Regions from separate parts of the Homo sapiens genome. Here all the other regions are linked to region 1. The links are contacts of gene promoters, found by promoter capture Hi-C in blood cells and fetal thymus (Javierre and others, 2016). All regions are on one chromosome and are shown on one strand. Each heading gives the region's core, a stretch centred on a gene start or on the middle of the fragment in contact. The rest is flanking DNA. Distances are from core to core; before and after follow the strand shown. Region 1 holds the start of IL3 (interleukin 3). Region 2 overlaps RAPGEF6 (Rap guanine nucleotide exchange factor 6). Region 3 overlaps RAPGEF6 (Rap guanine nucleotide exchange factor 6). Region 4 overlaps FNIP1 (folliculin interacting protein 1). Region 5 overlaps FNIP1 (folliculin interacting protein 1). Region 6 overlaps MIR3936HG (MIR3936 host gene).

Region 1 (4,715 bases), core at 1,014-3,513:
GTTTCGCCAAATTGCTCAGGCTGGTATATATTCATTTTTAAAATGAGAAAAACACTACAAATGTCAAGATTTACAATACTACTATTCAGGATTTTGTGTGCATGTGTGGTTACAACACAAAGTCTTGACTTTTAAAGAAACAAAAAAAAATACAGGAATGTTTTGTCTCCACAGCTTTAAATTCATTGAACTTTAAAATTCCCTAGAAAAGCCCACTTACACTAAAAAAAATACAGCTTTTCTCTGTAAGGAATCACATTATTTGTGCACAAGTCCCCAAAACGTTTACATAGACAGTAACACCAAGGTACAGTTGAGTATGCAAGGAACAAACTCTGGGTCCGTGGGGCAATAGGGGACCCTACCGGAGCTAAGATTGCTGAGGTAGTTAGATCAGAGCCCCTCAAATGCACTGAATCACTGAGGATCTTATCAAAATGCGATTTTTGATTCAGAAAGTCTGGGCTGGGGCCTGAGGGTTGACACCGCTAACAAGCTCCCGGGCAGGGCTGACCTGCAGGTCTGGGACCACAGGAAGGGTAGCAAGACTGGAAATCTGTCTCCTCACAAGACTGAGCTGCTAGTGGAGGTTACCATGTCTGTTTTATTCACAGCAAGTGCTTTGTAGACGTCTGTTGAATGAATTGTGCCTACGGAGTACGCAAGCTGGTGCTAAGGCTCCCCTCTGTGTGTTGAGTTGTGCCTGTCAGACTCCACTCCGGGTCCAGAACCTAGGGCTCTTCCTGGTCCAGGGCCCAGCCTGGGGCTGAGCCAGGAGGGCATATCAGCTACAGAAATCATCCTCACAGCATGGCCTTGAGTCACAGCCTCTTCACCTGCCTCCCCACAGCCACATCCTGGTCCTTGTCTTCACCTGATCTGCTTATGCTCAGAAGCCCAAAGCACCCAAATTCCGCTGCCTCAGCATAACCTCCTATCCCGCATCCCCCACACTGATCACAACACACCGCACCATGACCCAGACCCTGGCCTTTCCTTACTGCTCTCCTCTCCCTCCCACCCGGGGCCAGTCATCTTGAAGAAGTCTTCCACATGCCCCTGTCACACTCATCCCTTTACCAAAAGCCCCTACCCCATGGGGTGGGTCAGGCAGGCCCCAAGACAGGCCCGTATCAGGAGGACCCCTCTTCTCTCAGGGGCTGCCCTCTGGGATAACCACCCCCGCCCTTCTGGGTTTCCTGCTTCCTATCTGGCTGCAGTTTCTCAGGTCCCTTGTGGATTTCCCCATGGTCTGTCCCCACTCACATCCCCTCTCTGCAAACCTTGCCTACTGGGCCTGCACCTGGCAAATCCATGCTCAGCACAGACGGGGATCAAGACCTCTCAATACAACTGTCTCCTGCCAATCCCTGCCCCAGCAGCCTGAGGCCCAGTCTGAAACCAGGGAGTTGCTCTCCTTTCTCCTCCCTTGACCTCACCCCTCAGACCATGCCAATTCTGCCTCCTAAACCTCCCAGGCCAGCCCCTCCCCCAGCTCCCAGTGACAGTGTCCTCAGGTACCTGAGCTCAGCTCTCGGTGCTACCAGAGGGACTGCCAGGGGCTGCAGCCGGGCCTCCTGCAGAGGCTGAGTCCCACACGCAGGGAACAGCCATGCCACTGCTAGCAGACCAGTAAGAGAATGGCCACCTGGGGCCTGAGCGCCCTCGGCCATCCACCAGAAACAAAGTGTCAAGGAGAAGCTGCCCGAAGCCCATGGGACAAACCACTGGGGACTGGAACACCAGTAATTCTGTATTGGGAAGCGGCACCAAGAGATGTGCTTCTCAGAGCCTGAGGCTGAACGTGGATGTTTAGCAGCGTGACCGGCTACCAGACAAACTCTCATCTGTTCCAGTGGCCTCCTGGCCACCCACCAGGACCAAGCAGGGCGGGCAGCAGAGGGCCAGGGTAGTCCAGGTGATGGCAGATGAGATCCCACTGGGCAGGAGGCCTCAGTGAGCTGAGTCAGGCTTCCCCTTCCTGCCACAGGGGTCCTCTCACCTGCTGCCATGCTTCCCATCTCTCATCCTCCTTGACAAGATGAAGTGATACCGTTTAAGTAATCTTTTTTCTTGTTTCACTGATCTTGAGTACTAGAAAGTCATGGATGAATAATTACGTCTGTGGTTTTCTATGGAGGTTCCATGTCAGATAAAGATCCTTCCGACGCCTGCCCCACACCACCACCTCCCCCCGCCTTGCCCGGGGTTGTGGGCACCTTGCTGCTGCACATATAAGGCGGGAGGCTGTTGCCAACTCTTCAGAGCCCCACGAAGGACCAGAACAAGACAGAGTGCCTCCTGCCGATCCAAACATGAGCCGCCTGCCCGTCCTGCTCCTGCTCCAACTCCTGGTCCGCCCCGGACTCCAAGCTCCCATGACCCAGACAACGCCCTTGAAGACAAGCTGGGTTAACTGCTCTAACATGATCGATGAAATTATAACACACTTAAAGCAGCCACCTTTGCCTTTGCTGGTGAGTAGCTTGGATAAGACTGGCCTGCAGCAGTGAGGGGTGGTGGCTGCCTAAGGCCAAAAGGCCTCATGGGCCTTTCTCTCCCTTCACCCCCACAGGACTTCAACAACCTCAATGGGGAAGACCAAGACATTCTGATGGTAAGAGCTCAGCCCGTGGATCCCGATCCACTTCCTGCCTGGGTGACTTCAGCCATGTCATTCCATCTTACCTAGCCTTGCTTTCTTCATCTGTAAAATAGGGTTAATAGCACCTATCTCAGTGGGATTGTTATGACAATCAAATGGCACAATGTGCATGTTCTGGCCCAGCATCTGGCACTTAAGAGTTCAATACATGGCCACAGCCATGGCTATAATAATGAAAATGACTTTTAAATTAGAAAATGAAAAGGCAGTTCTAGGTGAGGAATACCAAGGGCCTTAAGGTCAGTGTTTGGTAGGGCAGACTCTGGACTGACAGACAGAAATTTCCCCCTCAGATGTGCCAGCTTCTTTTTCCCTTAAAAAATTGAGTTTGTGTTTTCCACCCTCATTGGCTGTGGCATTATCATTTACAGTTATTTTTCATGGTTCCAGTTGGTTGCAGTTGTTCTGTCTCACCTTTGCATGACATTTCTTGGGTCAAACAAGAAGTGGAAGCCTTTGCTGAGTTCCTGGGCCATCTGTGTTTGGGGCACTCACAGCTCACATGCTGCACCCATTTCCATGCTGGGGTCTCTGTGATTTTCTTCTTGATTTCTAGGAGACTTTAATTCAGTCAGGGCATGAACACTGTTATCAGCCTCTGAGCTACAAATACTTCCCTTGGAAAACCCCCTGTCTTTTGTAGAGCTTCTTTTTGGAGATATTTTTTCCCCCAAGTGCAGAAAGATCCACCTAGGTACCCCCTCCCCACCCATTTTTTTTTTTTTTTTTGAGACAAGAGTCTCACTCTGTTGCCCAGGCTGGAGTGCAGTGGCACGATCTCAGCTCACTGCTACCTCTGCCTCCTGAGTTCAAGCAATTCTCCTGTCTCAGCCTCCCAAGTAGCTAGGATTACAGGCATGCACCACCACTCCCATTTTTGTATTTTTAGTAGAGACGGGGTTTCACCATATTGGTCAGGCTGGTCTTGAACTCGACCTCAGGTTATCTGCCTGCCTCGGCCTCCCAAAGTGCTGGGATTACAGGCTTGAGCCACTGCGCCCAGCCCACCTAGGCCCTTTATGTAGCTCAAATGGAGCCAGAGACTGGGGGCTTGAGGAAACCAGGTCCTGCCTGCCACTCACTTCTAGGCCTGTGCCCTTGGGCAGGGACCCACCTGAGGCAAGAACGGGACTAGGAGGGAACCCGAGGATGTCCCCAACAGTGGGCTTGGGAAACTGTGGGGGTGACTTCCACCTGCTTGTGGGAGGGATACTCTGTAACCTTTCCCCCTTAAGTGTATTCTCTGCCCCGTTAGGAAAATAACCTTCGAAGGCCAAACCTGGAGGCATTCAACAGGGCTGTCAAGAGTTTACAGAACGCATCAGCAATTGAGAGCATTCTTAAAGTATGTGAAGCTGTTGAGGGTTTGGGATCCCTGTGTTGGCCCTGCCCTGCCTCTGGGGAGGAGAGCAGGGCCCACTCCCTTTCCAAGGGAATCTCTGACCATCTGCTTTGGTCTCTTTCCACAGAATCTCCTGCCATGTCTGCCCCTGGCCACGGCCGCACCCACGGTAAGCTGTCCCCCAAGATGCCCGTCATGGCTTGCTCCTCAGCTGGTCATCACCATTACAGCCTGGACTCACCTAATGCCACCTTCTTGGTTTCTTTATAGCGACATCCAATCCATATCAAGGACGGTGACTGGAATGAATTCCGGAGGAAACTGACGTTCTATCTGAAAACCCTTGAGAATGCGCAGGCTCAACAGACGACTTTGAGCCTCGCGATCTTTTGAGTCCAACGTCCAGCTCGTTCTCTGGGCCTTCTCACCACAGAGCCTCGGGACATCAAAAACAGCAGAACTTCTGAAACCTCTGGGTCATCTCTCACACATTCCAGGACCAGAAGCATTTCACCTTTTCCTGCGGCATCAGATGAATTGTTAATTATCTAATTTCTGAAATGTGCAGCTCCCATTTGGCCTTGTGCGGTTGTGTTCTCATTTTTATCCCATTGAGACTATTTATTTATGTATGTATGTATTTATTTATTTATTGCCTGGAGTGTGAACTGTATTTATTTTAGCAGAGGAGCCATGTCCTGCTGCTTC
Region 2 (4,715 bases), core at 1,400-3,899, 460 kb before region 1:
AATATGGGACAAAATAAAGCAGGAAGGAGGAAAGAGAAAACAGGACAGAAGCAATAATTTTTAAAATACTCTGTAAGAATTTTCCAAAATCGATGAAAGATATCAAATCAGGGTATCATGAAGATCTATAAACCCTAAACAGAATAAATCCAAAGAAAACCATACCTAGCAACATTAGACAAAACTGCTGAAAAGCAAAAAGCAAGAAAAATCTCAGAAGCAGTCAGAGGAAAAAACATATTAACTGCAAAGGAGTAACAAGAACACTGATTACTGAGTCTTCAACATAAATAGAAGCAAGAACATGATAAAACATCTTAAAAGTGTTACAGAAAAAACTGCTCAAACTGTTTATGTTGGAAAAACACCCTCCTAAAACACTGCTGTGAAGAATTAAAGAAGACTAAATAAATGGAAGAATATACATGTTTGCAGATTGACAGATTCATTGTAACAACGTCATTTCTCTCTGAATTGATTTATGGATTTAATGCTATCCTAATCCAAAGCCCACAGCCTCCCAAAGGCTTTCTTGTGTATAACTGTGTGTGGAAATTGACAAGCTGATTCTAGAATTTACACAGAAAGGCAAAGCAACAGTGATAGCCAAGACAATCTTGAAGAACAAGCCTGAGTACAAGCCTGAGTTACTCTACTGAATACAAACTCATGCTATCAGATATCAAAACACACAGCTTAGGCCGAGCGTGGGGGCTCACGCCTGTAATTTCAGCATTTTGGGAGGCAGAGACGGGCGGATTACTTGATGCCAGGAGTTTGAGACCAGCCTGGCCAACGTGGTGAAACCCCGTCTTTACTAAATCCTGTCTCTACTAAAAATACAAAAAGTAGCCGGGCATGGTGGTCCACGCCTGTGGTCCCAGCTACTCGGGAGGCTGAGGCATGAGAATCGCTTGAACCCAGGATGCAGAGGTTGCAGTGAGCCGAGATTTTGCCACTGCACTCCAGCCTGGGTGACAGAGTGAGACTCTGTCTCAAAAACAAAAAACAACAACAACAACAAAACGAACAAACAAAAAAACTCAAACTACACAGCTTGACAGTGCAGTACTTGCATGAACACAGGCATGAGCAAAATAAACAAATGAGCAAAATAAACAATAAACAAATGAGCAATAAACAATTGAGCAAAATAAAGAGACCACACAGAGATACACACACACACACCTACACACACGGGGTCACTTAATTTAACACAAAGTGGACACTGCAGCGCAAGAGAGAAAAAGATAGTTTTTCAATAAATGGTGCTGGATCAACTGGATGTCCATAGGGATACCTAATGAATCTTGCCAATAATAAAATCCATGCCTTCAATCAACAATTTACATTTTAGAAAATTTGTATCCATTACTGTGAGCTTGACACTTCCCTAAACTTTTCAGAAGAGGCTGGTGGTGATATTAGCAATGCCATTTTTGATAAATTTTTTTTTAAAGTGCCAAAATGAGAAAAACTACATACACCAGGACCATGAATATTTTCCAAATGGCCAACGCATGGCATTACAAAAATCAAACATAGAGAAATGATTTATTCAATGTGCAAGATAGACCAATTGTTTCTAATGCAACACAGTAAAAAGTTCATGGATAAAGTCTCAGACCCCATACTGAAACTAATCTGTAAGCAACCTGTCAAGTTTTGGTACTGTTTTAAAGAAGAATACCCAACTTATCTGAAAAGAACTTTCCCGCATTTTTTTTTGTTTTAACAACTTCTCTGTATGAAGATTTCTTTCATTCAAAAAATATATCACAACAGACTGAATGCAACAGATATGACAATCCGATTAATGTCAGAAAGATATTAGATTTGCTAAACTATAATTAAATCTTTTATGAAAATAGTTCTTTCTCATAAATGTTAATTGTGTTAACATGTAATGAGGCTGGGCGCAGTGGCTCATGCCTGTAATCCCAGCACTTTGGGAGGCCGAGGCAGGCAGATCACCTGAGGTCACGAGTTCAAGACCAGCCTGGCCAATGTGGTGAAACCCCATCTCTACTAAAAATACAAAAATTAGCCAGACGTGGTGGCACGCGCCTGTAGTCTCAGCTACTTCGGAGGCTGAGGCAGGAGAATCGTATGAACCCAGGAGGCGGAGGTTGTAGTAAGCCGAGATCGCGCCACTGCACTCCAACCTGGGTGACATGGTGAGACGAAAAGAACTAACGAGAAGGAAGGAAGGAAGGAAGGAAGGGAGGGAGGGAGGGAGGGAAAAGAGAGGAGAGGAGAGGGGAGGGGAAGGGAGGGGAGAGAAGAGGAGAGAAGAGGAGAGGAGGAGGGAGCGAAGGAAGGAAGGAAGGAAGGAAAAAAAGAAACGTGATGGGTTTCTCATTAAATTTAAAATGACTAATAAATATTTTTAAAATTAAGAAAAATGAATCTTGAATTCTACCTCACATCAAAAGTAAAACTCAATTCCAAGATGAATTGTAGATCTATATTTGAGACAGAAAACACCAAACTTTTGGAGGAGAAACAAAGAAAATCTTCGCAATCATGAAGAAAGGAAAGATTTGATTTTTTTTAAAACAGGACACAAAAGGCCCTAATCACAAGGGGACAAGTTGAGAAAGGAATTACTCTTTCTCAAAAGATGCCAATAATAGAGCAAAAAGAGCTGGGTGTAGTGGCGTATGCCTGTAATCCTCGGGAGTCTGAAGCAGGAGGATCTCTTGAGCCTAGGAGTTCAAGACTGGCCTGGGCAACGCAAGAAAACTCCATTTCAAAAAAAAAAAAAAAGAAGGCTGGGAGCGGTGGCTCACGCCTGTAATCCCAGCACTTTGGGAGGCCGAGGCGGGTGGATCACCTGAGGTCACGAGTTCAAGACCAGCCTGACCAACATGGTGAAACCCCATCTCTACTAAAAATACAAAAAATAAGCTGGGCATGGTGGCGGGCGCCTGTAATCCCAGCTACTCGGGAGGCTGAAGCAGGAGAATCCCTTGAACCCGAGAGGCAGAGGTTGCAGTGAGCCAAGGTCACACCATTGCACTCCAGCCTCAGTGACAAGAGCGAGACTCCGTCTCAAAAAAAAAAAAAAAAAAGGAAAAGTGGCACAGTGGAAATAGATAATAGACTAGACATACCCAACAAAGGACTTCCACTCAGAATTCAAAAATAACTTTTACAAATCAACAGAAATGATAAAGACAACCCAATTAATAAAAGAAGCTATCCAAATACCTGATAGAAACATAAATGTCATTCATCATCATTAGTAACAGGAAAATGTAAAATAAAATCACAATGAACTAACATAATGTAATCAGCAGCAGAGTAGCAAAAATTCAAAATAAGCAAACAATAAAACACAAACATTAAGGGTTGTCAAACATGTAGAGCAACTGGAACTTAACTATACACAGCTAATGGTTATTAAAATTGGCACAATTGGCCGGGCGCAGTGGCTCACGCCTGTAATCATAGCACCTTGGGAGGCTGAGGCAGGCAGATCATGAGGTCAGGAGATCGAGACCATCCTGGCTAACACAGTGAAACCCCGTCTCTACTAAAAATACAAAAAAAATTAGCTGGGCATGGTGGTGGGCACCTGTAGTCCCAGCTACTCAGGAGGCTGAGGCAGGAGAATGGCACGAACCCAGGAGGCGGAGCTTGCAGTGAGCTGAGATTGTGCCAGTGTACTCCAGCCTGGGCGACAGAGCGAGACTCCGTCTCAAAAAAAAAAAAAAAAAATTGGTACAACTAATTTTAAAAAACTGTCACAATCTCCTGAATTTGAACATGCACATTTCCACTACAGTCATGCCTTGCTTAATGATGGTGATACTTTCTGAAAAATGCATCATTAGATGATTTCATCATGCTAACATCATAGAGTGTACTTAACACAAACCTAGAAGATGGTATAGCCTACTATACATCTAGGTTATATGGTATAGCCTATTGCTCCTAGTTTACATACTTGCACGGCATGTTACTCTACTGAATACTGCAGGCAACTTGACACAATAGTCCATCACTGACTGAAACAACGTTATGTGGCACATGACCATAATTTTATTCCTAGGAATATCCTCAACAGGAGTAAGCAATAAGGGCACAAAAATAACAGAATGTTAATAGAAACTGTATTATTTATAATACTAAAAATTAGAAATTGGCCAGGCACGGTGGCTCACACCTGTAATTCCAGCGCTTTGGGAGGCCGAGGCAGGTGGATCACCTGAGGTCAGAAGTCTGAGACCAGCCTGACCAACATGGTAAAACCTCATCTCTACTAAAGATACAAAAAGTAGCCAGGCATGGCGGCTAATGCCCGTAAACCCAGCTACTTGGGAGGTTGAGGCACCAGAATCACTTGAACCTGGGAGGCGGAAGTTGCAGTGAGCCAAGATTATGCCATTGCACTCCAGCCTGGGCGACAAGTGCGAAACTCCATCTCAAAAACAAACAAACAAACAAACAAAAAGAAAACTAGAAATAACCCAACTATTAACAGTGGAAGGGACAAACAAATCATTATTTGCACACAATTATATATTGTACAGCAGTGAAAAAGAACACATACAAAAACAGAAAAATTTGGATATTTATTAAGTAAAAAAGCATCACCAAAAGATTCTCTCTATACCAAGTTCAATAAGTGGCAAAACTAACCTACAGTGATACAAGTCAGAATTGTCATTACCTTTCAAAGTTGATTAGAGCCTTCTGGAAAACTGGTA
Region 3 (4,715 bases), core at 1,137-3,636, 430 kb before region 1:
GGGAGACAAGAGAGAAACTCCGTCTCAAAAAACAAACAAACAAACAAAACAAATTAATCATCTGCCAATGTATATTTAGGGCATATGGACTTTATGTTTTATAGTTCATTTCAAAGTTTTTCAAAAAAGTCTGGGGGAGGAGGAGAAATTATCTTTCCAACCAGTGACCAGGTTGGGCCAATTCTACCTCCTTAATACCTCACTATCCCACTTAACTGCTGCCACCACTGGGTCCAGGACCTTATCTCACACCTGAACTACTGTATTTGTTTCTAACAACAAAACATACTTCTTGGTGGCTGGGCACGGTGGCTCACACCTGTAATCCCAGCATTTTGGGAGGCCGAGGTGGGTGGATCACGAGGTCGGGAGATCGAGACCATCCTGGCTAACATGGTGAAACCCCGTCTCTACTAAAAATACAAAAAAATTAGCCAGGCATGGTGGCGAGCGGCAGTAGTCCCAGCTACTCGGGAGGCTGAGACAAGAGAATTGTGTGAACCCGGGAGGTGGAGCTTGCAGTCAGCCGAGATAGCGCCACTGCGCTCCAGCCTGGGTGACAGAGACTCCGTCTCAAAAAAAAAAAAAAAACCATACTTCTTGGTTTCCATATTATCTTAGTATAATCACTAGTAGTCTTACCTTTCACATGGAAAATATCCCAGTTTGGATAAAATACATGTCCAGTCTACCTGTATACCTATAAGCCTCCCTGTCTCTAGTCTGCTCCTCCCCACTCAATTACATCTCCAAAATGCTCACATAGTAGTCTTTATAAAACTGATCTTATTTCCAGGCTTTAAACCCTGCAACGGTTCTTTCTCCTTTATTTATAAGATGGAGTCCAAATTTCTGAAATTATCCAAACCCTGCTAGTACGTCCAGCTTCATCATTAAACATCTCACATCATGTACCATCATCCCCAAACATCCTAGACATTAGCCCCAGTGTTCTGCAACCTTTTTTTCATTTTCATCCCCTCCCAAAGAACCTTTCAGACAATTTTTCGTAAGCACTGCCCCATCTCTAATTAAATACTAAAGAATAAGACACTGTCAGTTTAGGGCTGAGTTTTAGAGGGCCACAAACCATACCAATAGCTGTGATTTTTTTTCCCACTCCCATAAAAGGCAATTTTTGCATCTTTGGGAGCGATATCACTTCCAACGGGAATGCCTGCTCTAGACTTACAGATTGGCTTCTTATTCTACAAGTATACATGGCTTGCCATCATCAGTACTTTTGCTCCTGCCTCTCTGCTTGGAATGACCTCTCTTGATCATCCAGAAATCAATTCATGACATTTAACACTGGGAATTCAATGCTCCCCCATGAAGCTTGTTCCCTTCCCCATCTTGCAATCCCAAAGCCCTACTCATACCTTTGTCACTAATAACTAAAACATTTATTACATTTATGTTTTCTTATGTCTCCCAAGTCATTGATGAATAGGGACCATGTCTAACTCCTCTCTACAACCTTGGTTTTTAATATATCAGATATATTATTTCTTAAATGAATGTACAAATTAATGTTATCATCTGGGTGAGGTAACCATATCTCAGTTTAAGCGGGACAGTCCCTCTTTAACCTGTTACTCTGAAATAAATATTAACAGCTTCTCTTTTAATTCACAAAAATGATTTGAACAACATATTGTTAATCTATACCTAGGAAATATAGGAAATAAAATTCTGAGCAAGAGTAGAACATAATCAGATCTGAGAGGAAGATCACTCTAGCAGCAAGACTCAATGACTCAAGCAATAATTTGGGGGTAGAAACAATAAAACAGACTGAATTAGAGTAGTAAAACTTGTAAGAAAAGGGCAAATAAAAAGATTCAGGGGACAAAGTTTAGTGGCAAGTTGCATCTATGAGGAATGAAGAGAAATAATACAAATTCCTAGAGACAGCAACTCGGCCAGCTGCCAACAGATTATGAAGGAAGAGGAATAATGATGGCTCAATTTAGGACAAGTGGTTGAAGAACCTGGAGGACAAGATGGTTGATATATGAAGCTGAAGCACATAAAATTTAGGGGATAAGTTGGAAAACATAATCCTAGGAGGCATTAGCCTATAACAACTAACTGAAACCAAGCTGCTGAGTAAGACTGTCCAAGAAACAAAAAGTTAGCAGTTCCAATGAATACGAAGTGCTACCTTTTTAACATATGATGACTTTACAAAATGTATTTCCAAATTTTGGCTTGTAAAATATTTATTCATCATTTAATATGTGCAAATCATGGCATTAAGCACTGAGAGGGAAATAAACATTAAGGGAAATATAAGGAGTTCATTCTGAAGTAAAAAAAGGAACGTTATAAAGAATGGTATTAAATGTGGATTGAGCTGAGAAACAGCCAAGTTCAAGGTCTAATTATGACTGTGGCTTCTTTAAGGAATTCTGGCATAATGACGCAAAGAAGTACAGGCATACTCTGTTTTATTGTGCTTGGCTGGTATTGTGGGGTTGTTTTCTTTTTTTTTAAATACAAATTGAAGGTTCATGACAACCCTGCATCAAGCAAGTCCAACAGCACCATTTTTTTCAACAGCACATGCTCACTTCATGTCTCCGTGTCACATTTTGGTAATTCTCACAACATTTCAAACTTTTTCATTATATTTGCTATGGTGGCCTGTGATCAGCAATCTTTCATGTTACTACTGTAATTGTTTTGGGGCACCACAAACTGTGCCCATGTAAGATGGCAAACGTAACTGATGTATGTGTTCCAACTGTTCCACTGGCTGTTCCACCTTCTCTATCTCCCTCTCTTGGGGCCTCCCTATTCCCTGAGACATAACAATACGGAAATTAGGCCAATTAATAACCCTACAATGGCCCCTAAGTGTTCAAGTGAAAAGAGTCACCTATCTCTCACTTTAAATCAAAAGCTAGAAATGATTAAACTTAGGAAGGCTAACAACGGCCCAAAGCCAGGCCTCTTGCACCACACAGTTAGCCATGTTGTGAATGCAAAGAAAAGGCACATGGAGAAAATTAAAAGTGCTACTTTAGTGAACAAAAAAATGATTTAAAAAAAAAAAGTGAAAAAGTCTTATTGCTGATATGGAGAAAGTTTGAGTGGTCTAGATAAACCATCAAACCAGCCACAACAGTCCCTTAAGCCAAAACCTAATCCACAGCAAGGCCCTAACTTTTCAATTCTAAAAAGGTTGAGAGATGAGATGGCTGCAGAAGAAAAGTTTGAAGCTGGTGGAAGTTGGTTCATGAAGTTTACGAAAAAAAGCCACCTCCACTAACATAAAAAGTAAGTTATCCTGAAGATCTAGCTAAGATAATTAATGAAGGTGGCTACACTAAAAATCAGATTTTTAATGTAGACAAAACAGCCTTATATCAGAAGAAGATGCCACCTAAGACTTCCATAACTAGAGAGGAGAAATCAATGCCTGGCTTCAAAGCTTCAAAGGACAGGCTGACTCCTGTTAGAGGATAATGCAGCTGGTGACTTTAAGTTGAAGCCAATGATCATTTACCATTCTGAAAACCCTAAGGCCCTTAAGAATTATGTTAAATCTATTCTGCCTGTGCTCAGTAAATAAACAACAAAGCCTAAATGACAGCACGTTTGTTTACAGTATGGGTTAATGAATATTTTAAGTCCACTGATGAGACCCACTGCTCAGAAAAAAAGATTCATTTCAAAATACTACTACTCACTGACAATGCATCTTGTCACTCAAGAGCTCAGATGGAGGTACACAAGGAGATTAGTGATTTTTTTCAGGCCTGCTAATACAACATCCATTCTGTGGCCCATGGATCAAGGAAAAGTTTCAACCTTCAAGTCTTGTTATTTAAGAAACACATTTCATAAAGCTACAGCTGACATAGACAGTGATTCCCTAACAGATCTGTGAAAAGAAAATTGAAAACTGTCTTGAAATGATTCATCATTCCAGATGCCATTAAAACCATCTGTGGGCCAGGCATGGTGACTCACGCCTGTAATCCCAACACTTTGGGAGGCTGAGGTGGGAGGATCACTTGAGCCTAGGAGTTCAAGACCAGTCCAGGCAATGTATTGAGACTATCACTTAAAAGAAAAAAAAAATTGTGAAGCATGGGAGGAGGTCAAAATATCAACACTAACAGGAGTTTGAAAGAGGTTGAATCCAACCTTTATGAATGACTTTGAAGGGTACAACACTTCAGTGAAGGAAGCAACTGCATGTGTGGTAGAAATAGCAAGAGAACTAGAATTAGAAATAGAGCCTGGGCTGGCTCCCAGCACTTTGGGAGGCTAAGGTGGGAGGATTGCTTGGGCCCAGGAGTTCAAGATCAACCTGGGCAACATAGCAAGGCCTCGTCTCTACAAAAAAAAAAAAAAAATCAGCCACGCATGATGGCATGCACCTGTAGTACCAGCTACTCAGGAGGCTGAGGTGGGGTCACTTGAGCCTGGGAAGTAGAGGCTGCAGTGGGCTGTGATTACGCCACTGCACTCCAACCTGGGCAACAGAATGAGATCTTGTCTCAAAGAAAAAGAAAAAAAAAAAAAAGGAAAGAAAAAAAAAAGAAATGAAGATGGAGCCTGAAGGTGTGACTAAATTGCTGCAATCTCATGATAAAACTTGAGTAGATGAGAAGCTGCCTCTTATGCATTAGTAAAAAAAGTGGTTTCTTGAGACAACCTGCTCCTGGTGAAGATGATGTACATATTGTTCAAATGACAAC
Region 4 (4,715 bases), core at 1,469-3,968, 380 kb before region 1:
GCAAATAATCAACTACATGTACAAAAAGAAAATATTCTAAATGAGGTAACAGCTTATCCATCTACCCACTCAAAACAACAGTTTATCTGCATCATTTTGTTGCCTATGCTAAGACTCTAGTAACATTCTTAAGGACAGCGAGAACAGTATACATACATGCTACATTTTATGACTCTCTCAACCTTCTACAGTGTTTCCTTGAATCAACACAAAAAAAGATTATCACACAATTAGCACAGTGCTTTCTTAGCTGTCTCTTGGACTAATTTAGACAATAGCTAGTCCTGTGACTTGTACTTTCTCCTGAAGGCTTCAAAGCATACTTTCAAGATGTTAATTATTTTCTTTTTACATCATTATCTATTTAACAAAGCCCTATACATTTACTAGACTAAGCAACTCCTGCAAAAGCCTGAGGCTTAAGAAACTAGTCAATCCTGGAGAACTACAGAATGGTGTCCTACTTTCTACTTTTTAAAACAATGCTGTCTAGTAGAACCTGGCAATGATGGAAACCTGCACTGTCTGAAATGGTAGCCACTAGCTGTATGTGGTTACTGAACACATGACATGTGACCAGTATGACTAAGGAAGGGAATTTATCTTAATTAAGTTAAATAGCCACATGTGGCTGACGGCTGAGATTTTATTGTGCAATACTGCTCTAGAAAGTTCTCTGAGATTTCCATAAATTCTAATACCAACCTCAGTATCACTGTCTGGTAACACCTAGGAGCCAAAAAAGAGAAGAATTATCTTGCCTCTACAAATTTTGTTGAATTTGAAACAATATAAACATGATGTATTACAATGGATAGAAACAATAAGAACAGGTCACTTTAATGAGCTCTCTGTAGAACATATAATCATTGCTAAGAATTTTAAAATAAACAAAAAGTTATTTTATAGAGCAAATATGACTAGAATACAAACTAGGCATATATGAAAATGTTTGTTTTTAAAGCTTATTACAGGTGTCCAGATACGATGGAAAATTGAAGACAAATGTTTATCCTCTCTTCAGTTTCTGAGGCCCCAAATGAACACCACCTAAAGATTTGAAAACAGATAAACTAGTGCAACAAATAGAATTAGAGAAGAACCAGCTGGGTGTGGTGGCTCACACCTGTAATCCCAGCTCTTTGGGAGACTGGGGCAGGAGGACTGCTTAAGCCCAGAGTTCAAAACCAGCCTGGGGAACACAGTGAGACCCTGTCTCTATTATTTAAAAAATAAATTACTTAATTTTAAAAAAATTGCCAAGGAACTATTACTGAAAATTAAAATTAGAGATTTCATGAAATTCTGGAATACAAACATATGGTGGAATTGTGATTGAAGTAGCAGAGTAGAGAAAGTTATAAGGTCATAGTATCACAGAGGGAGACATGGACAAAGGAGAGCTAATTTGCCCCACTAAAGCAAGATGAGGCTCAAGACTCACAAATTTTTGGGAAAGTCATGACAGGAGTTACGATACAGTACTGAAAATTGGGAGACTAATTCAAAGTCCATAAATGGTTGGCAGCTCCCTACCTCCTCTCCACTTCCCCAGAAAATGACTACAGATAGGAGAGAGCAGATATAGCAGTTGAATGGCCCCGAGGAATGACCTTTTCCAAACTCTTCCTGGCATTTGTATCTTTCAGAGTATATAATCAGATATAGAGTATATCTTGTAGTGTTAAATCTTCATGGGATTGTGGGGGGCGGTGGTATTGAAGGAGCAGAGATTAGGGGAAAAATATCTAAATATGCTTCTTCAGGTAATGATAATAAAAAAAGGTTGAAAAACACTGCCCTGAAGTGAAGGTCTCCAGTCAAAAGCCTGATTATGCACAGAATTCCTAACCTACAGTTTGTTACCTCATTCTCAACTACAGAGCGCAACCAAAAACACTGATATTTAGAGAAAGCCTCCAAGCAGAGAAAAAGACAAGAACAGAAACACACACATACTCACCCATATAAAATGACTCCAGAGGAAAACAGAAATAATGCAAACAATGGAAGAAAACTTTTAAACAAAACTCTAATGTACATTAAAATTAAAGAGTATGGTAGAGAATCTAATTTTCAAAGAAAAGGATTATCCAAAAATAAGAAAGCATCAAAGATTTGCTGAAATGAAAAAAGCATAGAAGGGATAGAAAAACAAAACATTCACAAAAAGAGAAGGAAAATATGAAAAAAAAGGAACACAGAACAATCCAGGAGTGCCAATTTCTAAAAAAAAAAAAAAAACGGATTCCAGAGAGAAAACAGAATAAATTGTAAAAGAAAGCAGAAAAATTACCAGAGCCGAAGAACATGATGGTGCTATAACAATACTGAGACCATAAAGGACCAAGAAACAGGTATAAACCCATATATCATGGCAGAAAATAAATATGATCTAAAACTGATAAATGAGGAAATAGCAACATTTCGTATACTTTTTAATAATATGGAAGTAAATAACAAGAAATAATAGTTAAAAAGAGAATGTGTCTGGGAAGAATGGGGTGAGTAGGATAGGATTCATTTATTTTTAATTATTGGACCTTTCAGAAATTTTTGTTTCTTAATCATGTGCATATACTTTTTGATTAAAAGAAACAATGTATAAATAAATAAATAAATATGCTGATCATTTAAGACTTTTTCATGAGTTTCTTCAGCATATTACCGTCTACTATAAGTCCATGTGTCATTGCACAGAGCCAGATCACAAACACTGGTATTAGTGGTCCAATGAGAGCCTTTGCTTTAGTATTTTAGTATTATATTTGTTTAAAAGTATTATATATGCTATGGCCTCAGAGTGTTATCAAGTATAAAGAAGGCAAAGAAATTAATTACGCAACAGTGCTTCTCACTATATACAACTCTATGTTGTTGTCATTAACAATCTAGAAGTAATGGCCAGGTGCGGTGGCTCACATCTATAATCCCAGCACTTTGGGAGGTCTAGGTGGGCGGATCACCTGAGGTTGAGAGTTCAAGACCAGCCTGGCCAACATGGCAAAATCCCGTCTACTAAAAATACAAAAATTAGCTGGGTGTGGTGGTGAGTGCCTGTAATTCCAGCTACTTGGGAGGCTGAGGCACAAGAATCACTTGAACCTGGGAGGCAGAGGTCACAGTGAGCTGAGATTGCACCACTTCATTTCAGCCTGGGCGGTAGAGCAAGACTCCGTCTCAAAAAAAAAAAAATCTAGAAGTAATGGTTTATTCTAGAAATCATTTCTTTCTTCTCCACTAATAATTGTGCCCTATCATTCAATGGTAAGAAAAGCAAATACTTTCAGTAATCTGTCCCCTTATTTTTCCCAGTCTGTCCCCTTATTTTTCCCAGTGCCCGGACAATGAAAGACTCTTTTGGTTGGGAGGAAACTGTAGGCATGATTTAGTTTTCTTTGATATGCCTAGGGTCTATATAAAAATCTAAAGACTTCGTCTTTGTTAGGCAGCAATGTTAACTAAACATGCTTCCTGCTTCTCTAGCTTTCATGGTTTCTGTACACATGTAAATAATTTCCTTCCTCTTCTCAACTGCCCAAAATTTACTAATCACTTGATCTCAAATAATCATTTAAAGATTATGTCATTGTTAATTTTAAATAATCCCTTAATTTAAGAAGTACATTTATCTCTTGGTGTCTTCAGGGGATTGGTTCCAGAATTCCCATGGTTACCAAAATCTGTGGATGCTCAAATCCCTTATGAAATGGCATACTATTTGCATGTAACCCATGCACATCCTCCTGTATACTTAAAACCACCTCACTTTGGGAGGCCGAGGCAGGCAGATCACGAGGTCAGGAGATTGAGACCATCCTGGCTAACACGGAGAAACCCTGTCGCTACTAAAAATACAAAAAAAAAAATTAGCCAGGCGTGGTGGTGGGCACCTGTAGTCCCAGCTACTCGGAAGGCTGAGGCAGGAGAATGGTGTGAACCCGGGAGGCAGAGCTTGCAGTGAGCCGAAACTGCGCCACTGCACTCCAGCCTGGGTGACAGAGCAAGACTCCGTCTCAAAAAAAAAAAAAAAAAAAACCATCTCTAGAGTACTTATAATACCAAATGCAGTGTAAATACTATGTTAATAATTGTTATACCGCATTGGTTTTTTAATGTGTATTTTTTTAATTGCAGTTAATTTTTATTGGTTTTTCTTTTTCAAATATTTTGATCCGAGGTTGGCTGATTTGCAGATGTGGAACCCACAGATATAAAGGTCTGACTGCAGAGTCTATTCTCATTATTTGAGGTAGTTATTTTCTATAAAGCCCACTCAAGCACTGAATTAGCAACACTGAACCACTGCCCCTAAGGAAAATAAACAGGTTCCTATGAGCCTCTGGTCACATTTTCATCAAACCCTCAATACATAACCTTGATGTGCCTCTCTGTTTAAGGATATCTTATTTGATGCTGTTGATTCATTAATATTAAACTCATGGCTGACAGCACCATAAATAATGTCTGAAGGAAGCTTATCTAACACATGTATTTTTTCTGTAAGGTACATCACAATCTTCTTACACTGAATATTAGACAGCATTTCAGCACTACATTTGGAAGCCATTTTTAACAGCAAAGTCACTAACAAAAAGCAGAAAAATGCAAAAAAATTGGCACTAAATAAATGTCAAAAAAGTATATTTGTTAACAGTATGAGAATTAAAACAAGAAGGCAAAGCATTAGACCTTGCTTGATCTAAACTAGGAAC
Region 5 (4,715 bases), core at 1,004-3,503, 350 kb before region 1:
AATAAGTGTCTGAATGGCATTTAAAGAGGTCATTTACAAGTATTCATGGATCACATGTGCACATGTAGTCAAACCTACCACTTTTAATTAAGAATCATGACTATACCTACTAAGCTCCAAAAAAAGAATGCTCCCTGGAGCATCTAAGGTGACAAACACATTCCAGCAGACTCCACTCTTTCACGGCTGCAATCCCCTGATCTTGGGGATGGATTATTCCCTTCCCGAAACACTTCTGTGAAATCTGTAAGATATGTTTATTGCTTGAGGTGTTAAGAGCTACAACTGCTGATTTTTCATTAGGCTAGGAGATTTTCATCAGGCTTTTCCCCACTGGATTTAGAGAGGATAACACTTGCCATTAAGGGCTTGCTTTTGTTTGGCAATATTCCAGACTTCTATCTTTCATGATCATAAGCACATACTGAAAATGTATATTCAAAACAGGGAACCATTATCATCACTATTAAAAAGGTACAGGCCAGATGATAAATTATTTTGGACACCAGCACTAAAAACTGAGACACTTTCATTATGAAGATCTATTCATTTGAATTCTGACAAATTCAATGATAGAGGATAAAGCTGTATGTGCCATGCAAACATGTAGACCATCAATGAACTCATTCTAAATTACTTTAGAATGCAGATTCTAAATGCAGACCACATTTTATCAATTAGTATTATAAACTCTTGTAGTCCAAGATTGGGTATGTACAACTAAATCTGGGTATGACTTCAGTGAAAAATAAAATGCTGTCCTAAGTTTGGAAAAAATACATTTCACTGCATTCTAATATTAAAAATAACCCTATTAGAAAAAAAAGAAAACACACATTAACTTAAATGGCATATATGAATCCAATAACTTGAAGCAGCCTAACAGATCAGTCTAGCCAGATGCTTCAACTTACAAAGAATGTAAGTATAAATAAATTATACTTAAATCTTAAATAAAATAATGAGAATTAAATTCCTGCCAGGGAAGACTAAATATCTAGATTACATCGAAGCAAAGTTTATTAAAAGAAATAAACTCTAGATTCTTTAAAACAAAAATAAGAAACTCAATTAGAAAAGAAAGATGAGATTACTTGAAAAACACAAGCTACTCTTATTAGAGTAGTGGTCGGCAACCCTAGCTATCCATTAGAATCAAGTGTTAGGTTTTGCATTTTGTTTTGTTTCACAAATACAGATGCCTAGAGATACCTTCTCTAGGTTACACGAGAGTCTTTGAAAGTAGAGTTCAGGCACTTGAATTTTTTATAAAACTTCTCTTTGTTATTCTAATACATACCTAGGGATTGCAATATACAGCAAGTTTAGATTTTTCATTTATACTCAAAACTGAATTACAAAACAATTTCGATAGCAGAGCCATATAATGTAACAACACATGCTATCACACTGAATTAAGTTTCTCATATCTAACAGTAATTCAAGCCTAAAATTACTCCTCCTTTTACTTATGCTGCTCTCTGGGCCCCAACAAACACTTTTCCTTTTAGCTAAAATGCTTTTCTGAGCTTTTGCCTGGATAACTGCTATTTATTTCTCAAAATACAACTCAATCATCATCCTTCTGTAAAGCATTGTTGGCATCCCTGCCCCTTGCCCAGGCTAAGTGTGGTGCTCTTTCGCTGAAGCTTTTTGCGCAGGCCTATCACTAAATGCATCACACAATGACCTATGACAGATGATTTTCCTAATTTTTCTCCCAGTAGACTCCATACATCTGTGTTCCGTAAGGGCAGACTCTGGGCTTTAATTTTTTTAATGTCCACCATGTTTCAATAAATGTTTGCTAGACCTACAAATTTTGGACAGGTCCATATTTGGAAAAAAAAAAAAAGTATAACATTGATTCAAAATGCCTATGCTTTTCTGGGCAAGAGACAATATGACAATTTAAACTTTAGTTAGCAGCAAGCAAATATAAGCAAACGTGTTTTTTTTTTACTACAGTTTCTAAGCAGTTTTTCTGACCAATGCTTTTCTTCTTATATTCACTAAGCTTCAACCAGTGTACTTTACTCTGGCTTTACTTCATCCTGGCTTTATCCTACTTAGCACACTTAAAAGTAAACATGAAAAATATTAAATTTATAAGACTTTGCTCTGGTCTTTTCACAGTTCTCTTGTAAGGCTAATATCAATATGAACAAATTTGATAATAAAGGGAGGGATAAAAAAGAAAATCAATGCCAACAGTAATCTCATAAAAAACTGAATACAAGAACGTGACATTACCAGACCGTGCTATGCCACTGTCTCTGTCCTCATTGAGCTCTCTTCCAGGCATGTCCATTGGGTTGCTGTGAACTATAAATAAAGATGAAACTGTCAGTTATAAAATATATTGCTATTCAGGTGGATGAACAGCTCCTTTTAAATAGCAAACGAAATCATGCTCATCTCATTGCATTCCCTTATTTTTTTCAATAGCATGGCACCAACCCAACACCAAGAGCTATTACTCAGTTGAACAAGCTTTGAGAGCTCTGTGAAGATTTGATACACAGTATAAGAATCTAAAACATAATATCTAAAGAAGCAAGGAGTGACTAAAAGTCATATTTTGGAAGCATATTCAGTGACATATTTATAATATACTATTAAATGAAAAAAAGCAAGCTACTGAACAGTATGAGTGCTTGCTGGGACCAAGTGGTGGGTATATCATAGTTCACTGTACTGTTTCTGCCTATAACAATGTATGTTTCAAAATTCTCTATAATAAATTGAGATATTTATTTGAATAGTATGATCCCCATTTTCTTTAAAAAACAAAAAAGCAGGTATTTCTGGCTGATAAAATGGCTAATATATATTTTTGCCTTTTAAAAGTGTTTTCCAAGTTTTCTACAAATATATATTTTTTATATCTAATATTTACAGGGAAAGAAAATATTAATCAAAACAAGAAGGGCTAAATTGATACCAATCTGAGAACAATGAAGAGTAAATGTGTTCACATTCCAGTAATTTCCACTAAAAGGTTACAATGTTAGGTAATCCGCTAAAATGTGTGAAAACAAGGAATATGATTAGAATCCTGGATATATACACATGAACATACTCTACAATCATCAACTTGATTATGTAAGCAAATATAGTCATATATGCCTTTTACAGAGCATTATAGTAGTGCTTGTTCATCTAAATCTTAGCTCCAAGAAAAACTGCTCTTATGGAATAGTGTAGATCAGAAATTTTACAATAATAACAAGATAGGATAATTTTCTGCAATTGGTGAACTATGGTACAAAAGCTACTCAGCCATGGAAACAAGACAGTGTCACATTAAAAATTCCAAGTGGTATCATAAGAAATAAAGTTCATATTAAGTTTTGGTTTCAGATTCTGAAGTTAAAATCATTATGCCACAAGAGAAATGACAAACTGAAATTTCATAAAAATGTCAATTCTACTGATAATCCGGTGTCTGGAAACTTTAAGAACATGTTCAGTAGAAAAGGAATTAAGTTTTTATACTTCCTAATGCAATGTTTTCTTAACCACAACCTCACCAACTGCATTCATCTACTCTCTTGTTTCCACAGCTTAACTACAGATTCTAGCCGTTGGGGCACACCAACTAGTCTACCCACACAGCACATCGCAAACCTGCAAAGAAAGAGGCGCTCCTGATCAGGCGGAGCGGACCCTGCTCAGAGAATGCCCGCCTGGGGCTGCAGAACTGTGAAAGACCTACATGGCAAAAACGTAAAATACACATGAAAGAGGACTGTTAGAGAAGCCACAATGCGTCAGGGAAAAAAGGTGAGCTAAGGCAGCACAAGAGCAGACCAACAAATATGGATGGAAACTTTTAAACTAAATAAGAATTCAAGCTGTCTTTCCCATTTTTGAAACAGGATGGTGTTTCTTTAGCCATGATTTATATGAAACAACAACTTCATGTATTTTTACTAATAAATCTATATGTAATAAAAACAAGCTTCTGCTATATAAAGTAAAAATTATTTTAAATGTTCAATCCTTTCTAATGTAAAGCAGTATTTTTAAAGATTTGAAAAAGTACGATAATGTTATCTATCTAATCTGATATTTGCCAAATAAATTCATTTTTTTAAAGTTGTTTGAAGATTATAGTATGTGCCTACAACTGCAGCGAGGAGAAAACCACCTAAGCACTTGGCACACAGCATACAACAGGGTGCAAAACCAGAAGAGATCTTACTGACAAATTAAAAATTGGTTTTTCTAACCCAGTTGTAAGTTACAAAGTAATGGAAGAAACCAAGGTTACTAAACCAGGAGTCAGCCACTGTGGAAGGAGGAACACAAATGAAGCTCATCAGGGACCAGACTCCCAGCTGTTCAAGAGAAGTGGCTGCCACATGCTTCATCAAGAAAAGGTAACTGCAGTCTGAAGACCCAAGAAGGACATTATAGCCTGAAAGCAAGCAGCTGGGTTACCTGTTAGTTATGCTTCATGAAAATAGTCTAAATAGCCATGAAGGACATTTAACTAGGATGGAATACGGGGCTTTCTGTTTTAAAAAGTGACAATTGCATGTTTCTTCTTTCCTTTTTTGAAACAGAGTTTTGCTCTGTCATGTAGGCTGGAATGCAATGGCATAATCATAGCTCACTGCAAGCTCGAACTCCTGAGCTCCAGTGATCTTCCCTCCTCAACCCTCCCCATGAGCCAGGACTACAGGTGCATGCCACCAGGCCCAGCTAAT
Region 6 (4,715 bases), core at 2,216-4,715, 310 kb after region 1:
GCAAATAATGTCTTACAGTGATTTTGGCAAGAAAAAAACAGCTATTTCAGATTTTGTTCAAGTTCCCCTAGTCATGTCAGACCCCATTGACTTCAGTAGGGATGGCACCATGTTCAAGAGGCTGAAGAAGAGACCTAGAACCAGAAACTGAGACATAAGGTTTATTGAGGGGACTTACAATACAGGGCAGTCCAGTGGCAGTGGGCTGGGCAGGAGAACCAAAACTCCTTGTAAAAAGCATGCAATTGGCCAGGCGTGGTGGCTCATACCTGTAATCCCAGCGCTTTGGGAGGCTGAGGCAGGTGGATCACCTGAAGTCAGGAGTTTGAGACCAGGCTGACCAACATGGGGAAACCCTGACTCTACTAAATACAAAAAATTAGCCGGGCCTGGTGGTGGGCACCTGTAATCCCAGCTACTTGGGAGGCTGAGACAGCAGAATCACTTGAACCCAGGAGGCGGAGGTTGCAGTGAGCCGAGATTGCACCATTGCACTCCAGCCTGGGCAACAAGAGCAAAAACTCTGTCTCAAAAAAACAAAAACAAACAAAAAACACCATGCAGTTTATATAACATTTTTACTTAACACCTTTCCCCTAGCAACCTCCACCAGGCAACCTTCATTTAACCTAAAACAAAGGGCTTTGATCGCCTCGTAGGGCCTGCATTCTACAGGATGGGCTGGGGGTGGGAGCAGTTCAGAAGTTCGTCATAGATAAGAAATGAAATATCTGGGTTGGCCACTCCCAGATTCCTTAGCTTGGAGCTCTGAACACACATTCTTCTTAGACCATAGGGTCATTCTTCAGGTATGCATAAGTTATTGCTGCCAAGTGCATCTGTCGGGTGCATCTGCCATACACCCCTTACCAGAAGCGTCCAAACACGGATTTGAGGGATCTACAGCAGACACTGGACAGATGCTCTGAATCATTCTCTACTCTGATGCTGAAGCTATAATATTGGACTAAGCTTGGGCCTTCTACTCTTTTCTTTCTTTCTTTTTTTTTTTTTTGAGACGGAGTCTTACTCTGTTGCCCAGGCTGGAGTGCAGTGGCGCGATCTCGGCTCACTGCAACCTCCACCTCCCAGGCTCAGGCAATCCTCTCACCTCAGCCTCCTGAGTAGCCGGGACTACAGGCGCGTGCCACAATTGGCTAATTTTTGTATTTTTAGTAGAGACAGGGTTTCACCATGTTCCTTAGGCTGGTCTCAAACTCCTGACCTCAGGTGATCCACCCTCCTCAGCCTCCCAAAATGCTGGGATTACAAGTATGAGCCACCGCACCCAGCCTATTCTTTTCTTAAAGGAGGAGGCCTTCCCTTCCTCAGGCAAGTAATTGCTGACTACTCCAGCCTACATAACGTCCAGACATATCCAAATCTGTGGAGAACACAAAGTTCTTAAGGTATTTATTTAGAGTCAATAATCAAAGTAAAACTAATAATTATAGCTAATATTTAGTTTGTAGTTAATATATGCTAGGAGCTCGAGCTAAGCACTACCATCCCAGGAAACTGAGGCTTAAAACACTTTTAAAATTTGCTCAAGCTCACAAGCTTGGAATTGAAGAAGAAAGCAATTGAATATTGGTCTTTCTTCTATCATACATCCAGAGGCTCTGCACTTAATCAATACAACATACTGTCTCTTATTGCACAAGTAACTACAAGGTTCATCTGTAAAATTCTATTCTGTAGAATAGAAGGGAAAACAAATTAAGGAATTACAGATGTTTATTCTTCTGAGCTTTAATTTAACGTATTGTTTGATTCAAATAATTTATATATTAGCTATCTATTGCCACATAACATAATACCTCAAAATTTACCATTTTAAAACAACCAACATTCATTATTTCTCAGAGTTTCTGAGGATCAGGAATCTGGGAGCCACTTAACTGAGTGGTTCTGGTCCAGAAGACTCTCATGAAGTTGCAGTCAAGCTGTCAGTAGTCATCTCGACACCCAACTGATGCTGAAGGAGCTACTTCCAAGCTCACTCAAGGTTGTTGGTGGGCCTCAGTTCCTCATTAAATGTTGGCTAGAGACTTCATTCCTTGACATCACATGGACCCCTCAAAGGGCTGCTTATAACATGACAGCTTGCTTGTCTCTGAGCAAGAGAAAGGGAAAAGAACACCCATGATGGACATCTTTTATAATGTAATTACCCAAGTGATATAAGTATCATCACTAATGCTGTATGCTTTTGGTCACATAGACCAATCCTGGTACAGGGATCATTCATTGGGTGCCATCTTGGAGGCAAGCTACCACATCTGCCAGGGTATGAATGCATTTAATCTAAAGTTCTAGCCCTGAACTGTAGGGTTATCTACCATATAAATCAGTTTTACATTTTTTAATATGTAAAATAGGAACATCCCAATTCAGAATATTGCAGGATAAAGGGCCTCAGGTAACTGATTAAGATTCTAAGCTCTCTTTCTCTTTTAAAAGATGAAATTTAAGGCTGGGTATGGTGGCTCCTACCTATAATCCCAGTACTTTGGGAGGCCAAGACGGGGGGATCACTTGAGGTCAGGAATTTGAGACCAGCTTGGCCAAAATGGCAAAACCCTGTCTCTACCAAAAATACAAAAAAAATAGCTGGGTGTAGCGGCGCGTGGCTGTAGTCCCAGGCACTTGGAAGGCTCAGGTGGGAGGATTGCTTGAGCCCAGGAGGTTGAGGCTGCAGTGAGCCAAGACCACCTCACTGCACTCCAGCCTGGGTGACAGAAGGAGACCCTGTCTCAAAAAAAAAATGCAATTTAAATAGTAATGGCATTCAGATAGTAATCACAGTGCACCTGGAACTGGACGGCACCATCTTAGGTTGCTCTCTGCTTTGCGCATGTGGACAAGCCATCTATGACAAATAGTTTCTTTTCTTCCTAAGGATATGCAGCTTCTTTTGTAGTATACTGCATTGTTTTCAGTCCCTTTCAGGAATGTTATCTGATGCCCAACTGATATTTCTCAAATGTTAAAATAAGACTTCTTCATCTTGTTTGGTCTGGACAGAGGTCAACATTCTTCTCATAAAAGCTTTCATTTCTTTTGAAGCATTAAAATAATATTTTAGCACACAAAAAAGGAGTTTATTTTCAAGAAGCTTTGCTTTCTTTTTCAGTTAGTTCTAGATAAGAACTATAACTTCACATAAGATGTTAGAAGGATTTAAGTACATTGCTGAAGGTATAACCATCCATCTTCAGGAAGTAAGAATAGTGAATAGTAAGTATAAAGAAACAAACAAGTCCTGTGATAACATCTTTATCATAATTTTTTTAAGTCTATTATGCTTTATGCAAATGTTTAGATTTCCTTGTTAAAAATCTGCTGGCCAGGTTAGGTTCCCTTTCTGTAGCTTTATTTTCAACTCATAATATAGTGACTATTAAATATTCTTTACTCAACACATTATATTGTAAAAATATACACTTAGTTCTGTTTCTATCACTAAGCCACTACTATTTTAAAAAGGAATATCTTGCATTGTTAAGTTTAGCAGCCCAAATTCTTAAAGGCCTTAGGAATGGTGCTGTCCAATAAGATAACCAATAGCTACATGTGGCTACTGAGCACTTAAAAAATGAGTCTGGCCAGGCATAGTGGCTCACGTCTGTAATTCAGCATTTTGGGAGGCTGAGGTGGGAGGATTGCTTAAACCCAGGAGTCTGAGACCAGCCTGGGCAACACAGGGATGCCTTGTCTCTGTAAAATAAAAAAAATAAAAAAATTAGCTGGGCACGGTGGCATGTGCCTGTAGTCCTAGCTACTCAGCAGGCTGAGGCAGGAGGCCCACTTAAGCTTAGGAGTTCAGGGCTGCGGTGAGCTATGATTGTGCCACTGCACTCTAGCCTGGGTGACACAGTGGGACCGTGTCTCCAATAAATAAATGAATAAATAAATATTAAAAAATAAAAAGTGTGGCTAGTCCAAATTGAAATGTGCTGTAAAATACACACTGGATTCCTTTTTTTTTTTTTTTCAAATCCTGAGAACCTGTGAAACACACTGAATTCTTAAGATTTAGTATGAGGAGGGGAAAAAAAGATCAATGATTTACATATAACAATGTAAAATATCAATAATTTCTATATTGATTATATGATGAAATGATCATGTTCTGGATATACTTGATTAAATATACCATTAAAGTTAATTTCATCTTTTATTTTTACTTTTTAAATATGCAGCATTGCCCAATAAAATACAGGACAACCAGTTACATTTTTATTTTATATATTCCTGCTTGGGACATAATATTTAAAAATTATTCATTCTATATCTGAAATTCAAATTTAACTAGGAGTCCTATATTTTTATTTGCTAAATCTGGCAATTTTATTAATATGGCTACTAGAAAAGTTAACATAACAAATGTAGCTCCTTATCCTATGGAACATTGCTGCTTTAGAATCACCTCGCTGCTTTTTTTTTTTTTCCAGTTAGCTTCTGAATAAACTCTGCACGGAAATAACTAATCTGTGGGGAATATTTAACCCTAGGCTAGGATCGTTAATCGTGAAGTTAAATTTTTACATCTGCATGAACAAAATGGCTTGTTACAGACGAAAATGTGGAAAGGGCATCTGGACTAGAATGAAAAGTCATAGCTCCCAGCCTCTCTACTAGGGTAGTTAACAGTCCCAGGTTCAAAATAATCCCCGTCCCTCTTATAAGATTAGGCGGTGTCAAGAGCAACT

Evidence for each region. The method cuts DNA at HindIII sites, captures the fragments that hold promoters and counts their contacts. A CHiCAGO score of 5 or more calls a contact.
Region 2: a contact is called between a fragment that was not itself captured here and the fragment with the promoter of IL3 in region 1, in 6 of 17 cell types (naive CD8 T cells, neutrophils, total CD8 T cells and 3 more). The highest score is 7.8, in naive CD8 T cells.
Region 3: a fragment that was not itself captured here is called in contact with the fragment with the promoter of IL3 in region 1 in 2 of 17 cell types (total CD8 T cells and naive CD8 T cells); the score reaches 7.1 in total CD8 T cells.
Region 4: a fragment that was not itself captured here is called in contact with the fragment with the promoter of IL3 in region 1 in 1 of 17 cell types (naive CD8 T cells); the score reaches 5.5 in naive CD8 T cells.
Region 5: a fragment that was not itself captured here is called in contact with the fragment with the promoter of IL3 in region 1 in 1 of 17 cell types (total CD4 T cells); the score reaches 5.0 in total CD4 T cells.
Region 6: a contact is called between a fragment that was not itself captured here and the fragment with the promoter of IL3 in region 1, in 1 of 17 cell types (megakaryocytes). The highest score is 5.8, in megakaryocytes.

Annotation. Positions count from the first base shown.
Region 1 is chr5:132,058,392-132,063,106 of GRCh38, forward strand. It overlaps IL3 (interleukin 3), which reads left to right and starts at 2,264. Exons shown (of 5, transcript NM_000588.4): 1 at 2,264-2,477; 2 at 2,576-2,617; 3 at 3,921-4,010; 4 at 4,135-4,176; 5 at 4,278-4,715. The coding sequence starts at 2,316. The coding sequence ends at 4,400. It overlaps LOC105379174 (a long non-coding RNA gene), which reads right to left and starts at 4,321. Exons shown (of 5, transcript XR_001742531.2): 1 at 4,249-4,321; 2 at 3,080-3,217. The HindIII fragment of the contact is 14,005 bases long and covers 1-4,715 here.
Region 2 is chr5:131,598,330-131,603,044 of GRCh38, forward strand. All of the region lies in intron 3 of RAPGEF6 (Rap guanine nucleotide exchange factor 6), which reads right to left. Among named protein-coding and RNA genes, the nearest start is that of RAPGEF6, 35 kb to the right of the region's middle. The HindIII fragment of the contact is 9,095 bases long and covers 1-4,715 here.
Region 3 is chr5:131,625,237-131,629,951 of GRCh38, forward strand. All of the region lies in intron 1 of RAPGEF6 (Rap guanine nucleotide exchange factor 6), which reads right to left. Among named protein-coding and RNA genes, the nearest start is that of RAPGEF6, 7.6 kb to the right of the region's middle. The HindIII fragment of the contact is 2,101 bases long and covers 1,337-3,437 here.
Region 4 is chr5:131,679,535-131,684,249 of GRCh38, forward strand. The region is part of intron 11 of FNIP1 (folliculin interacting protein 1); the gene reads right to left. Among named protein-coding and RNA genes, the nearest start is that of RAPGEF6, 47 kb to the left of the region's middle. The HindIII fragment of the contact is 3,513 bases long and covers 963-4,475 here.
Region 5 is chr5:131,706,948-131,711,662 of GRCh38, forward strand. It overlaps FNIP1 (folliculin interacting protein 1), which reads right to left. Exons shown (of 18, transcript NM_133372.3): 7 at 3,631-3,714; 8 at 2,254-2,325. Among named protein-coding and RNA genes, the nearest start is that of RAPGEF6, 74 kb to the left of the region's middle. The HindIII fragment of the contact is 476 bases long and covers 2,016-2,491 here.
Region 6 is chr5:132,364,666-132,369,380 of GRCh38, forward strand. MIR3936HG (MIR3936 host gene) reads right to left here. Exons shown (of 8, transcript NR_110997.1): 2 at 1,903-2,116; 3 at 270-362. MIR3936 (microRNA 3936) reads right to left here and starts at 934; the gene lies at 825-934. The HindIII fragment of the contact is 698 bases long and covers 3,117-3,814 here.